Linked DNA regions of Homo sapiens: region 2 is linked to region 1. Evidence: promoter capture Hi-C in human tissues and cell types (Jung and others, 2019). All regions are on one chromosome and are shown on one strand. Each heading gives the region's core, a stretch centred on a gene start or on the middle of the fragment in contact. The rest is flanking DNA. Distances are from core to core; before and after follow the strand shown. Region 1 holds the start of AMT (aminomethyltransferase). Region 2 holds the start of LOC124906236 (Sjoegren syndrome nuclear autoantigen 1 homolog).

Region 1 (6,148 bases), core at 598-3,097:
ATGACACCTAGGACCTGCTGCTTCACCTACCCAAACCTGGGACGACTTAGCCCATGTGGCAACCCACAGGACAAAAGCTTCAAAGGTCATCTTGATGATCGCAGGCTCTCCTAAGTACTCCATAGCAATGCCCCCAAAAAACTTCCTTAGCCTCCCCACTGGATGGACAAAAAGCCTGAGGTTGAGGGGGTCACATGAATCACCTGGGGATCTTGTTAAAATGAAGGTTCTGATTCAGCAGGTCTGCAGCAGTGCCTGAGACTATATTCCTAACAAGCTCCAAAGATGCTGGTTTAGAGACCACACTTTGTTGTTGTTATTTTTCTTTTTAGACTGAGTCTCACTCTGTTGCCCAGGCCAGAGTGCAGTGGTGCAACCTCAGCTTGCTGCAACCTCAGCCTCCCGAGTAGCTGGGACTACAAGCACGCGCCACCACGCCCGGCTAATTTTTGTGTTTTTAGTAGAAACGAGGTTTTGCCATGTTGGCCAGGCTGGTCTCGAACTCCTGACCTCAGGTGATCCACCCGCCTTGGCCTCCCCAAGTGCCAGGATTACAGGTGTTTGAGTCACGTCGCCTGGCCAGGGACCACATGTTGAATAGAGAGGGGTTAAGCAGAAGGGATGGCCAGAGAGCAGCATATTAACCTTGGTTTCTGGCCTCCTAGCCTGATGTAGTAAGACTGGGATATTCCCCTCCCTACAAATGTCTGTGTCTCTGGAAATGACTCAGGGATTCTGTCCAAGACTGCAAGCCCTGAGAAGCTGTGTTTGACTCATCTCTGTGCCCCTAAGCCTGAGGTAGGGACTCAGCCCATTTGCTGGCTCATGACTAAGAAAACTCATAGAGCAGAAATAAAAGGGCCCACCTGGTTTGGTCTTAGCTCTGCAATGTCTCCAACCACTAGACTCTCCATCAGCTTCACCCGGTCACTACCAAGTATCTTGGTCTGGGGAAGAGATTGAAAGCCTCAGGCCATTGCAACAGCTACAATCCAAAAGGCTACTAAGCAAGGATGCATCCTCCCTGCCATCCACAGTGCAGTCCAGCCCACCCAAAGTGACTAACCAGTCTTTTGGTTCTACACGTGGCAAAGGACCACCTTCTGATTTCCTGACCTCCCCCAGTCACTCTGTGTGGGGGGACTGCCAGGGAACTGGACAGGACCTAGCACCTTCCTGAAATAACCCCTTTTCAAACCAACATCCAGCCCAATACATGAGAGTGGGTGTCAGCCCTGGAAAACCCGGGACATTAAGGCACACCATTTAATGGGGGCAAGCTAGAAGGATGAGATGATGAGACCCTCTGAGCTCATTTCCTTGGGGCCATTGACCTATCCATGACACCCCCATGACCTCTAGCTCTTCTGAGAAGGCTGTCCTTGGAATCCAGTTCACAGCAAACAAAGCCAAGGAGTGGACCACTGTAAACAGGGAGGAAGGCCTGATCAGATGGCCAGTGTGCTCCCCTGGCTCACCTGCAGCATATGAGACACGTCAAAGAGCGAGCAGTGCTGGCGTGTGTGCAGGTGCGAGTCAGTGTGACTGTCCCGGTACTGCACTGGCAGACTCCAACCCGCAAACGCCACCATTTTCCCGCCGTGGGCCAGGTGGAAGTCATAGAGCGGTGTCCTGCGGAGCACCTCCTGTGGGCGGCTGGGCTTAGTGCCACCAGGGCCCTAGCCCCCAGCCGCTTCCCTCCCCCACCCTCCAAGATCAGCACCCTCTATCCCACCTGTGCGCAACTAAGTGGACGACACAAGGCCGGGGGGAATGCCTGCAGGCGAAAGCCCAGACGGGCCACCACACTTACAGCCCTCTGCATCGTCGCCTGCAACGAGTGCAGACGGCGCACAGAGGCCACCACACTGCCAGGCACGCCGGGAGATGTAGTCCAGGCCTCTGCTCGGACAGGTCTCTCTCCGGAGCAAAGGATCTGAAGGGGGCGTGGGCAGCCCCAAGGGCAGGCTGGGATTTAGAGCAGAGAATGCAGGAACCCGCAACCACAGGGAAGAAGCCTCCAGCTCTTTCGGCTGACTCTTCAGGGCAGCTCGGGCAATCCAGAGCTGATTGGGCTGCCCAGAACAAAGCTAGGGGCTAGACCGCCCCCTGCAGAACCGCCCTGTCTCCAGAGGGTCAAAGTTCTGGAAAGGGCTGAAAGGTCTGAATCATACCTTTAGGACCTCAAGAGAGTAAGGTCAAGTGGGGGTGGGGAAGGTGGGCCAGCCTGGCAGGTAGGCAGCACCACAGTAGTCTGTCCTCATGTGGACCCCTAGTTCCACAGCTCTCCCACCAGGCAGACACAGGCAGCCAGCAGTCATGCATTCCACAAGTATTTATTGATCTTACTGCATACCAGGCCCTCAGATGGGGACACAGCCACGAATGAAGCATGGTCCCTGCTACCACAAGGTCCTCTTCACTTACACACACACTGAGGACTACTGCTTCGTCACGCTTTCCGAAGCAGCTGAGTGGGGCTATGTAAGTGACCTTGCAGATGAAGTCGCCACCTGCAAGAACTCACAGGTGAGAACAGAGGGTGGCCACCAAAAGGTCACTGAACTCCCCCGAGAAAACTGTTGAGCCACACACATGTCCAACTTTCCAGGTCCAAGACATACTGCAGTACTGCTTTGTAATAGCCACCAGGTGCAAAGCCAGGAAGAACCAGAGGGAAACAGGTTTTTCTCACATGAGGGAAGAGCAGCCTGCATCACTTAATGGTTGGACTGAGTTAATGCAGGACTTAGGCCTCTTAAAAGGCAACAATGAGAACCCTTACTTGGACCCACTCCCCACCACGGTTGATCTCTCATTATGCTGAGCATATCTCTTGGAAAGGGGCAGGGCGGGCGCGGTGGCTCATGCCTGTAATCCCAGCACTTTGGAAGGCCAAGGCAGGCAGATCACCTGAGGTCAGGTGTTTGAGACCAGCCTGACCAACATGGAGAAACCCCATCTCTACTACAAATACAAAATTAGCCAGGCATGGTGATGCATGACTGTAATCCCAGCTACTCGGGAGACTGAGGCAGGAGAATTGCTTGAACCTGGGAGGCGGAGGTTGCAGTTAGCCAAGATTGCACTATTGCACTCCAGCCTGGGCAACAAGAGCAAAACTCAACCTCAAAAAAAACAACAAAAAAGGAGAGGGGCAACTGGGAGAAAGGATAGAGATGTGCTTTGGGCTATGTCAGATGGCAGAAGGGTCCCAGTTCTTTTTTTTTTGTTTGTTTGTTTAAGATGGAGTTTCGCTCTTCTTGCCCAGGCTGGAGTGCAATGGCATGATCTCAGGTCCGCAACCTCCACTTCCCGGGTTCAAGAGATTCTCCTGCCTCAGCCTCCCAAGTAGCTGGGATTACAGGTGCCTACCACCACGCCCAGCTAATTTTTTGTATTTTTAGTAGAGACGGGGTTTCTCCAGGTTGGTCAGGCTGGTCTTGAACTCCTGACCTCAGGTGATCCGCCTGCCTGGGCCTCCCAAAGTGCTGGGATTACAGGCGTGAGCCACTGCACCCTGCCTAGAAGGGTCCCAGTTCTTATGCTCAGGCCCTGGTTTTGCTAGAGACACGTGCCCAGGCCCTATGGGCACACCCACTTGAACATATATTCAGGAGCCAGCTCAGAAACCAAGAGACTCAGGCTGCCCAAATCTTCAGGTTTCCTTCCTAGGCAGGCAGCAGAAGAGTTCAGACAGGAAATTTCTCTCTGTGGCATAACACAAATGGAAAGAAAACCACTAGGGGACACACAGGAAGAAATAAGGTTTCTGTTTCTTCCTCAAGTGTCCCAAGTGCCATGGCAGCAATGGCCTTCCAGGTCCATACATGGAGCAGGTTTTAGTAGGTCAGCCCAGCCCAACTGCACTGACATGAGGGAGCAGGCAGAAGACAGGAATGTGCATGTTGCCAGAAGGGGCAGAGGGCACTCAGGGATTCTCAGTAAGTACAACTGACTGGAGTGTTTTTGGGTAGAAGGAAGAATTGAGTTGCAGCCAGGCGAAGACAGAGCACCCCCATGCCAGGAGCTCATGCTGAAGTAACACGGTAAGCCCCTGAGAATCCTGAATCTGTGAATGTGGCCCAGACAGAACAGGCATGCAGGCAACACTTGGAATGCACAGGAAATACACTTCAGCCTCTGGTGGCCCAAACCAAGTCTGGGTGGGCACAGAAAGGCCAACATCTTGGCTAGGAGCAACCATTCAAGTGTAGGAGAGCAAGTTCAGGTCATAACAGCCATCCACCTGAAATACAAAAGACCATCAGGTCTGATCTGCTCAGGGCAAAGCAAGCCAAGCAGAAGGAAGCGATTACTTACATCAAAGCGGCCGATCCTTGCGGAGGTGTGACTGGCCCGGATCATCTCTGTCAGTGCCCACATCTGCTGCACCTCGGAGGATACCCTGCTGGGGTCTGGGAGACCCTGCTCCAGAAGGAGGGGTCAGTGGCCATGGGTCTCTCCCCAGCAGTGCCCTTCAGGCTCCAGAGAGGCCAACCTGGGCTAGGGGCCCTCCAGCTGAGACCAACAACATTCTCAGATGGCTTATGAAACATGAGGTTAGGGCCTGATGTAGCCCCACAACAGAGATGCCTCAAATCCCACAGAATACCCAGGAGGAAGATAACACCCAAGGGCCCTGGGCCCAGCCCCAGAATTTTACAGGAAGGGGTCTACCTGGCCTGTGTTGGACACTAGAGCCATTCACACATGGTTCTTACCTAGGGTGAGGGCTTACCTCACGGAGGAGTGCAGGTTGCTCACAGGGCACTGGGTGGGAGAGCCACTTGGGAAAGGTCACGGAGGGGCTCTGCAAAGCAAAGATGTACTGCCCTGAGTGAGACAAAGTGGACAGCTCTGGGACCAGATTCCAAGGTCCTAGGAGCAGAGAGAAGGGCCGCTGGGCCTCAGACACTGGGAAAACCCTGTTTAGGGAGCCCACAGAGACCTAAAGAGGCAGTCAGACTACCTAAGTTCTCCTGCTGTGCAGACGGAGTCCTCAGAAACACAAGCTCAAAAGTGTCTCCCAGCACCTAAAGGCTCCAGCTCTGAAAGTAGCAGGTGGCCCCAAAGGTCAGGGGATATGGGGACATGGCCTCACCTCTCATTGTGAGCTTCCAGCATTCACACCCAGCTAACCTCCATGAAGGCCCCATTCACAATCTTCACCCATTACCCACCCCACCACCTAGCTTTCCCAGTCATAGAAGCTTTCTGGGGAAAGGGCCAGCCAGCAGCTGAGCTAGTCACTTACCTTTGGTCCCTGCTGATAGATCTGCAGCTCCTCCACTGTGAAAGACAGCCACAGTGGTGATGGCTGCCGCAGAATCAGGCGTAGCTCCGATATTCTAGCCATGTCACACAGCATCTGACACACACACACAAGGACCCAGCAAGGATCCAGCTCACTGCCCAGAAGCCTCCCAACCAGCAATGAGCCAGAATGCTGCCCACCCCACAGGCCTTGGGAAGGAAGGAACAGTAGTCCCTCCAAGGCACTTCCCTGGAAGTCACAGTTCAGGCCAGACTGGCCCCCTCTTCCCTCTTGGTATATTGATCCAATCCCCCCACCTCTGGTAAGTCCTCATCTGGGCTGCCCTGGCCATCCTGAGGCCCAGCTGACCTGATGCTTGAACAGCGATACATACTCCTGGGCTCCCTCCTCACTGTGTGGGTCAGGCATTAGGCAGTAGTCCCGCAGGCAGGTCACCCACTTGGCAGGTGTGTGTGCTGAGGTGTACTGACGGACACGGATGCTCAAAAAAGCTGTGTAGTAATTCTTAAACGTGATTTCCTGCAACTAGAACACATACAACCCATTACAACAAGTCAGACCCAGGCCCAGGGGCCTGAAAAGCTCAAAGATCAAAGGTGCCACCTCTTCCTTCTCCCCACCTTTTCTTTTTTTTTTTTTTTTGAGAGGAAATCTTGCTCTTTTGCCCAGGCTGGAGTGCAGTAGCGTGATCTCAGCTCACTGCAACCTCCACCTCCCAGGTTCAAGCGATTCTCCTGCCTCAGCCTCCCTAGTAGCCGGGACTACAGGTACGTGCCACCACGCCCAGCTAATTGTTTTGTACTTTTAGTAGAGACAGAATTTCACCATGTTGGCCAGGATGCTCTCAAATTCCTGACCTTAGGTGATCCA
Region 2 (6,892 bases), core at 593-3,092, 100 kb before region 1:
TAGGTGGCCTCCGTCTCCGCGATGGTCTGGTAGAACTTACTGCAAGAGGCAATCTTGCGTGCCAGGTTCTCGTTGACGCGGGCCAGCTTCTCGTTGACGCAGGCCAGCTTCTCTGTCAGCTGCCTCACCTCATTCTGCAGCCGCTGTTTCTTGTCCTCCTCCTGCTGGATCTGCCAGCACAGCTCCTCCTGCTTCTGGCATAGCTCCTCTATGCATTTGACCAGCTTGTTGTCGTAGTTCTGCAGCGCCATGCCCTGCTGGGTCAACATCTCCTGGGGCCCCCTATTTTTTTTTTTGAGATGGAGTTTCACTCTTTTTTTGTTTTGTTTTGTTTTTTGTTTGTTTGTTTTTTTTTTTTTTTTGAGACAACAGTCTTACTCTGTTGCCCAGCCTGGAGTGCAGTGGCGTGATATCGGCTCACTGCATGCTCCGCCTCCTGGGTTCACATCATTCTCCTGCCTCAGCCTCCCGAGTAGCTGGGACTACAGGCGCCTGCCACCATGCCCGTGGTGTTTTTTTTTTTTTTTAAGTATTTTTAGTAGAGACGGGGTTTCACTGTGTTAGCCAGGATGGTCTCAATCTCCTGACCTCGTGATCCGCCCGCCTCGGCCTCCCAAAGTGCTGGGATTACAGGCATGAGCCACTGCGCCCAGCCTGAGATGGAGTTTCACTCTTGTTGCCCAGGCTGGAAAGCAATGGTGAAGTCTCAGCTCACTGCAACCTCTGCCTCCTGGGTTTAAGCGAGTCTCTTGCCTCAGGCTCCCAGGTAGCTGGGATTACAGGCACACGCCACCACGCCTGGCTAATTTTTGCATTTTTAGTAGAGACAGGGTTTCACCATGTTGGCCAGACTGGTCTTGAACTCCTGACCTTAGGTGATCCGCCCGCCTTGGCCTCCCAAAGTGCTGGGATTATAGGCATGAGCCACCGTGCCTGACCTAATTTTATTTTTTTAAGAGACAGGGTCACATTATGTTGCCTAGGATGGTCTCAAACTCCTGGGCTCAAGCAATCTTCCCACATCAGCCTCTCAAACTGCTGGGATTACAGGCATGAGCCACCAGTGCCCAGCTACAATAAACTCTTAACAGTCAGAATACTTGCTGCCTTACCAAAAGTCAAGCTGTGACTCCACACCAACACTGTGAACACCATCTGTAGGCAAAGGTGGCTTTCTTAACTTCAGGGACACCAATCTCTTCTGGCTCTGGGCTGGCAACCTTAAAGGGCCTTATAGACCTCAGGCAAGTGACGTTAAAGGGAAAGAGAGAAACAGATGGAAAGAGACAAAGCCAGGTCTACACAAACCCTTGAGAAACTAATATTAAGTTAGCTGGAGCAATTCACATGGAAGAGAAAACTCTGAAAATGCCCAGAATTTACAAGGTGGTCCTCATTAGTGAAAAAAAGACAATTAAATATAAACAACCGGCCAGGTGTGGTGGCTCACGCCTGTAATCCCAGCACTCTGGGACGCCAAGGCGGGTGGATCACCTGAGGCCAGGAGTTCGAGACCAGCCTGGCCAACGTGGTGAAATCCCATCTCTACTAAAAATACAAAAAATTAGCCGGGCGTGGTGGCACGAACCCGTAATCCCAGCTGCTCAGGAGGCTGAGGCAGGAGAATCGCTTGAACCTGAGAGGCAGAGGTTGCAGTGAGCCGAGATCGTGCCACTGCACTCCAGCCTGGGTGACAGAGCAAGACTCTGCCTCAAAAAAAAAAAAAAAACAAACCACCATCACCACCACCAAGGAATCCATCCATGGAAACATTTACTATCCTCTGCCAAGAAATATATTAAATTGGAGGGAGGACTGTTGAGGGATAAATAAATAAATAGAAATACATTGGCCAGGCATGGTGGCTCACACCTGTAATTCCACCACCTTGGGAGGGATTGCGCCACTGCACTCCTGCTTGGGTGACAGAGCAAGACTGCATCTCAAAAAAAAAAAAAAAGAAATATATAAAACTGACTCTATTGGTAGGTTTTAAAAAAGTTATTAAGCCAACTAGTGACCTTCCTTCGATGACATATTCCCTTGATGTACGTTTTCTTGTTATTTTTTGAGACGGAGTCTTGCTCTGTTGCCCAGGCTGGAGTGCAGTGGCGCGATCTCGGCTGACCGCAACCTCCGCCTCCCGGGTTCAAGAGATTCTCCTGCCTCAGCCTCCCGAGTAGCTGGGACTACAGGAGCATGCCATCACACCCAGCTAATTTTTTTGTATTTTTAGTAGAGACGGGGTTTCACCATATTGGCCCAGGATGGTCTTGATCTCTTGACCTCGTGATGTGCCTGCCTCTGCCTCCCAAAGTGCTGGGATTACAGGCATAAGCCACTATTTCCATTCCCTCAATTTCAACTTCTCTGTGTCTTTGACACACAATGTATTACTAAACATGTTTGTTTGTTTGTTTGTTTGTTTGTTTTCTGAGATGGAGTCTTGCTCTGTCACGCAGGCTGGAGTGCAATGGTGCCATCTCAGCTCACTACAACCTCCACCTCCTGAGTTCAAGCAATTCTCCTGCCTCAGCCTCCCAAGTAGCTGGGATTACAGGTGCACGCCACCACTCCTGGCTAATTTTCTGTACTTTTAGTAGATAGGGGGGTCTCGCTATGTTCACCAGGCTGGTCTTGAACTCCTGACCTCAAGTGATCCACCCACCTCCGCCTCCCAAAGTGGGATTACAGGCCATGAGCCACTGTGCCCAGCCTTGTTTTGTTTTCTTGTGTTTTGAGACAAGCTCTTGCTCTGTCACCCAGGCTGCAGTGCAGTGCACAATTATAGCTCACTACAGCCTCAAACTCCTGTGCTCAAGGGATCCTCCCACCTCAGCCTCCCAAGAAGCTGGAACTGCAGGCACAAGCTACCATGCCCAGCTAATTTTTAAAAAAAATTTTGTAGAGACAGGAGTCTTGCTATGTTGACCAGGCTGGTCTCAAACTCCTATCCTCAAGCAATCCTCCCACCTCAGCTTTCCAAAATGTTGGGATTACAGGTATAAGCCACCATGCCTGACTCTTTTTTTCCAAGAGACAGGGTCTCCAGCCTGACCAACATGGAGAAACCCTGTCTCTACTAAAAATACAAAATTAGCCGGGCGTGGTGGCGCATGCCTGTAATCCCAGCTACTCGAGAGGCTGAGGCAGGAGAATTGCTTGAACCTGGGAGGCAGAGGTTGCAGTGAGCCAAGATCGCGCCATTACACTCCAACCTGGGCAACAAGAGTGAAACTCCATCTCAAACAAAAAAGAAAAAGAAAAAGAGACAGCATCTCACTCTGTCGTCCAGGCTGGAGTGCAATGATGCAATCGTGGCTCACGGTAACTTCGAACTCCTGGGCTCAAGCAAGCTTCCTCCCTCAGCCTTCTGAGTAGCTAGGACTATAGGCACATACCACTGTATCCCTGGTGTGGTTTGTCTTTTAAAGTCTGATCTGAGAGTTTGTCTTTAGTTTGGTAAATTTAACTCATCTACAGTGATTCTAATGCTGTTATTAGACTTCACTGAATTTAATTCAGCCTCCTTATTTCAGGTTTCTTTTTTTTCCCCCTTTTTCCACATGTTCTAACATGCTTTCTAATTACCATACTTCTTATTTTTTCCCCCCTTCATTTTTGCCTTCCATTAATTTTCCTTTTGCAGGTGTGGCAGTTTGCTAGTCGCCTCCTGCTAGCTATTTTCCCCTCCTTCCTTAGTTTGAGAACCCCAGTTTTTAGCTGGACATGATGCAGTCCTGCTATACAGTACATCCCAGCCTTCCTGAAAGCCAGGTATTGTCATATGATTAGCCAATGAGATACAAAGGAGGTTTGATGTATGATATCTGAGAAATGTCCTAAAAAGGAAGGGGTAGGTCAGCTGGGTTTAATATTGCCATGGAGCTGCTACGTCAGCAATGGATTGACTGCCTACGTCAGAAATTCTTTTCAGAAAGATGTAAGCCTCCATCTTGCTTAATACGCTAATTTGCAGATTTTTCTTACCTGCCAGCAAGCCTTTCCTAACTGACGTAGTATGTTTCAAAGTTATACATTCAATTTTCCGTTTCTGTTAGTTGTTCCATTAACTTATTAGGATCTCTATTTTTATTTTTCCCCATAAATTACATAAACTTACAATTGTTCACCTTTCTCATCCTCAAGAATAGTAGTTCTGGACATTCTCATCTCTCTCTGCTCTATACTAATTCCTCACCTATGTTGGAATTACCCAGAATTTATCTCTGGAATATTATAGATACTAGTTGCTTTCTTAAACCTTGATTATTATTGTACCTTTTTTTTTTTTTTCTCCTGAGACAGAGTCTCACTGTATCGCCCAAGCTGGAGTGCAGTGGCACGATCTAGGCTCACTGCAATCCCCACCACCATTCTCATGCCTCAGCCTCCCCAGTAGCTACGATTACAGGCATGTGCCACTGCACCGGGCTAATTTTCTTCTATTTTTTAAGAGATGGGGTTTCAGCATGTTGGCCAGCCACCGCACCTGGCCTATTATTGATTTTTTTTGGCCGGGCGCCGTGGCTTATGCCTGTAATCCCAGCATTTTGGGAGGCCGAGGCAGGCGGATCACTTGAGGCTAGAAGTTCGAGACCAGCCTGGCCAACATGGTGAAACCCCGTCTCTACTAAAAATACAAAAATTGGCTGTGCATGGGTGGCATGCACCTGTAATCCCAGCTACTCAGGAGGCTGAGGCACAGAATTGCTTGAACCCAGGAGGCAGAGGTTACAGTGAACCGAGATCATGCCACTGGACTCCAGCCTGGGCTACAGATCAAGACTCCGTCTATTAAAAAAACAAAAAAACAAAACCCCTGAGTGTATAAAATCAAGAAATTTGCACCAAGTGATACATCCATGTAACCACTACCCTGACCAAGAAACAGGACACCCCCAGACCCCTAGGTGTCCTTCTCACGATTCAGTCGCAATTCTTCCCAACACTAACCAGTTCTGACCATGAATCCCCAAGGTTAATTTTGCCTGTTATAAAGTTTTAAGTCAACAGAATCATTATGCCCTGCTCTGTGTCTACCTTCTCTCATTCATCATTTTTCATTAGACTCATCACTGTTGTGCAAAGCTGGACAGAATTTCCTTGTGTGCTTACACTTACTGCAGTTTATCCATTTACTTTTGATGGACATTTGGGTTAGCTCCAGTTTGTAACTATGACAAGCAGTGCTAGCACAAACATCCTGAAATATGTATTTAAGAGAACATGGGATATATTTCTATTGGTTATATGCCTAACAACAGGATTGTTGAGTAGCAGAATGTGCATATAATTCTACATTTTTGCCTCTTTTTTTTACTAGTGTTGCCTGACTTGTTTGTATTGACTAGTAGGAATTTCTTTGCAACTCTAGATATACGACCAGCTGTGGTGGCTCATGCCTGTAATCCAGCACTTTGGGAGGCTAAGGCAGGCAGATAACTACAGGCCAGGAGTTCAAGACCAGCCTGGCCAACATGGTAAAACCCTGTCTCTACTAAAAATACAAAAATTAGCTGGGCATGGTGGTGGGAGCTTGTAGTCCCAGCTGCTCGGGAGGCTGAGGCATCAGTCACTTGAACCCGGGAGTGGGGGTGCAGTGAGCTGAGATCGCACCATTGCACTCCAACCTTGGCAAGAGAGTAAGACTCCGTCACAGGGAAAAAAAAAAAAGAAAAAAAAATTCTGGACACAACTTGTCAGACATGGATTACAAATCTCTTCTCTCACTGTATGGCTTATGGCTTGTCTTCACTCACTGGTGAACAGACATTCTTTTTTTTTTGAGATGGAGTTTCGCTCTTGTTCCCCAGGCTAGAGTGCAATGGTGCAATCTCAGTTCCCTGCAACCTCCGCCTCCCGGGTTCAAGCGATTCTCCTGCCTCAGCCTCCCAAGTAGCTGAAATTACAGATATGCACCACCACGCCTGGCTAATTTTGCATTTTTAGTAGAGACAGGGTTTCTCCATGTTGGTCAGGCTGGTCTCAAACTCTCAACCTCAGGTGAGCCGCCCACCTCGGCCTCCCAAAGTGCTGGGATTACAGGCATGAGCCACTGCTCCTGGCCTTTTTAAAAAAAAAAAAAAAAAAAAAAAAAAAGAGATGGGGTCTTGCTGTCGCCCAGGCTGGAGGGCAATGGCAGAATCATAGCTCACTGCAGCCTCAAACTCCTGGACTCAAGCAATGCTCCCACCTCAGCCTGTCAGGTAGCTGGGACTACAGGCACTCACCATTGTGCTTAATCCCATCTGCAAAGTCCCTTTTGCCATGTCACCTGACATAATGACAGATTCTGAAACAGATTCTGGGAATTAGGATATGGATATCTCAGGGTGAAGATGAGCACAGCTATGCCTACCACAGCTATTTTATTTATCTTGTCAACAACTGGCAACCGGGGTTTCTTAAACTGGAGTCCATGACTGGACTTCAGGGGTTCTAACAGTTCTTCTCTTAAGAACTCATAGTTTTCATGGTTCTCAAATGACCTAGGAGCCCACTACTATGTAATGGTCACAGTCCAAGGCCTGACAGAGGGAAAAGGACAGAGCGCAACATTATTCCCATAACTACTGGAACACAGATATAATTTCCAAAACTTATACCATAACGAAAATTAATCACTTCTTTATCTCCCTAAGAACATGCACAGTTCCACATACCACATGAACATCTCTTGAAACAGATGTGTCCTTAGTCCAAGTTTTGTAGCTGAACAATTCACCCAGCAAGCTCCCAGGGCAACAATGAGTAACAGGCCACTGGGCAGAAACAGGTAGAATCAAGCTATCACTTTTTTTTTGTTTTTGTTTTTTTTGGGTCAGAGTCTTGCACTGTCACCTAGGCTGGAGTATAATGGTGCGATCTCAGCTCACTGCAGCCTTCACCT

The links. The method cuts DNA at HindIII sites, captures the fragments that hold promoters and counts their contacts. A contact is called where the count stands out against the background at its distance.
Region 2: a contact is called between a fragment that was not itself captured here and the fragment with the promoter of AMT in region 1, in 4 of the 25 tissues and cell types used here (liver, lymphoblastoid cells, mesenchymal stem cells and 1 more).

Annotation. Positions count from the first base shown.
Region 1 is chr3:49,420,626-49,426,773 of GRCh38, forward strand. It overlaps AMT (aminomethyltransferase), which reads right to left and starts at 1,848. Exons shown (of 9, transcript NM_000481.4): 1 at 1,736-1,848; 2 at 1,479-1,646; 3 at 867-947. The coding sequence starts at 1,825. It overlaps NICN1 (nicolin 1, tubulin polyglutamylase complex subunit), which reads right to left. Exons shown (of 6, transcript NM_032316.3): 2 at 5,627-5,803; 3 at 5,258-5,371; 4 at 4,742-4,813; 5 at 4,324-4,428; 6 at 1,708-4,249. The coding sequence ends at 4,208. RefSeq lists enhancers at 723-1,475, 1,476-2,229. The HindIII fragment of the contact is 4,289 bases long and covers 1-2,645 here.
Region 2 is chr3:49,317,197-49,324,088 of GRCh38, forward strand. The region is part of intron 6 of USP4 (ubiquitin specific peptidase 4); the gene reads right to left. It overlaps LOC124906236 (Sjoegren syndrome nuclear autoantigen 1 homolog), which reads right to left and starts at 1,866. Exons shown (of 2, transcript XM_047449404.1): 1 at 1,113-1,866; 2 at 1-282. The coding sequence starts at 269. RefSeq lists an enhancer at 1-297. The HindIII fragment of the contact is 7,768 bases long and covers 1-5,726 here.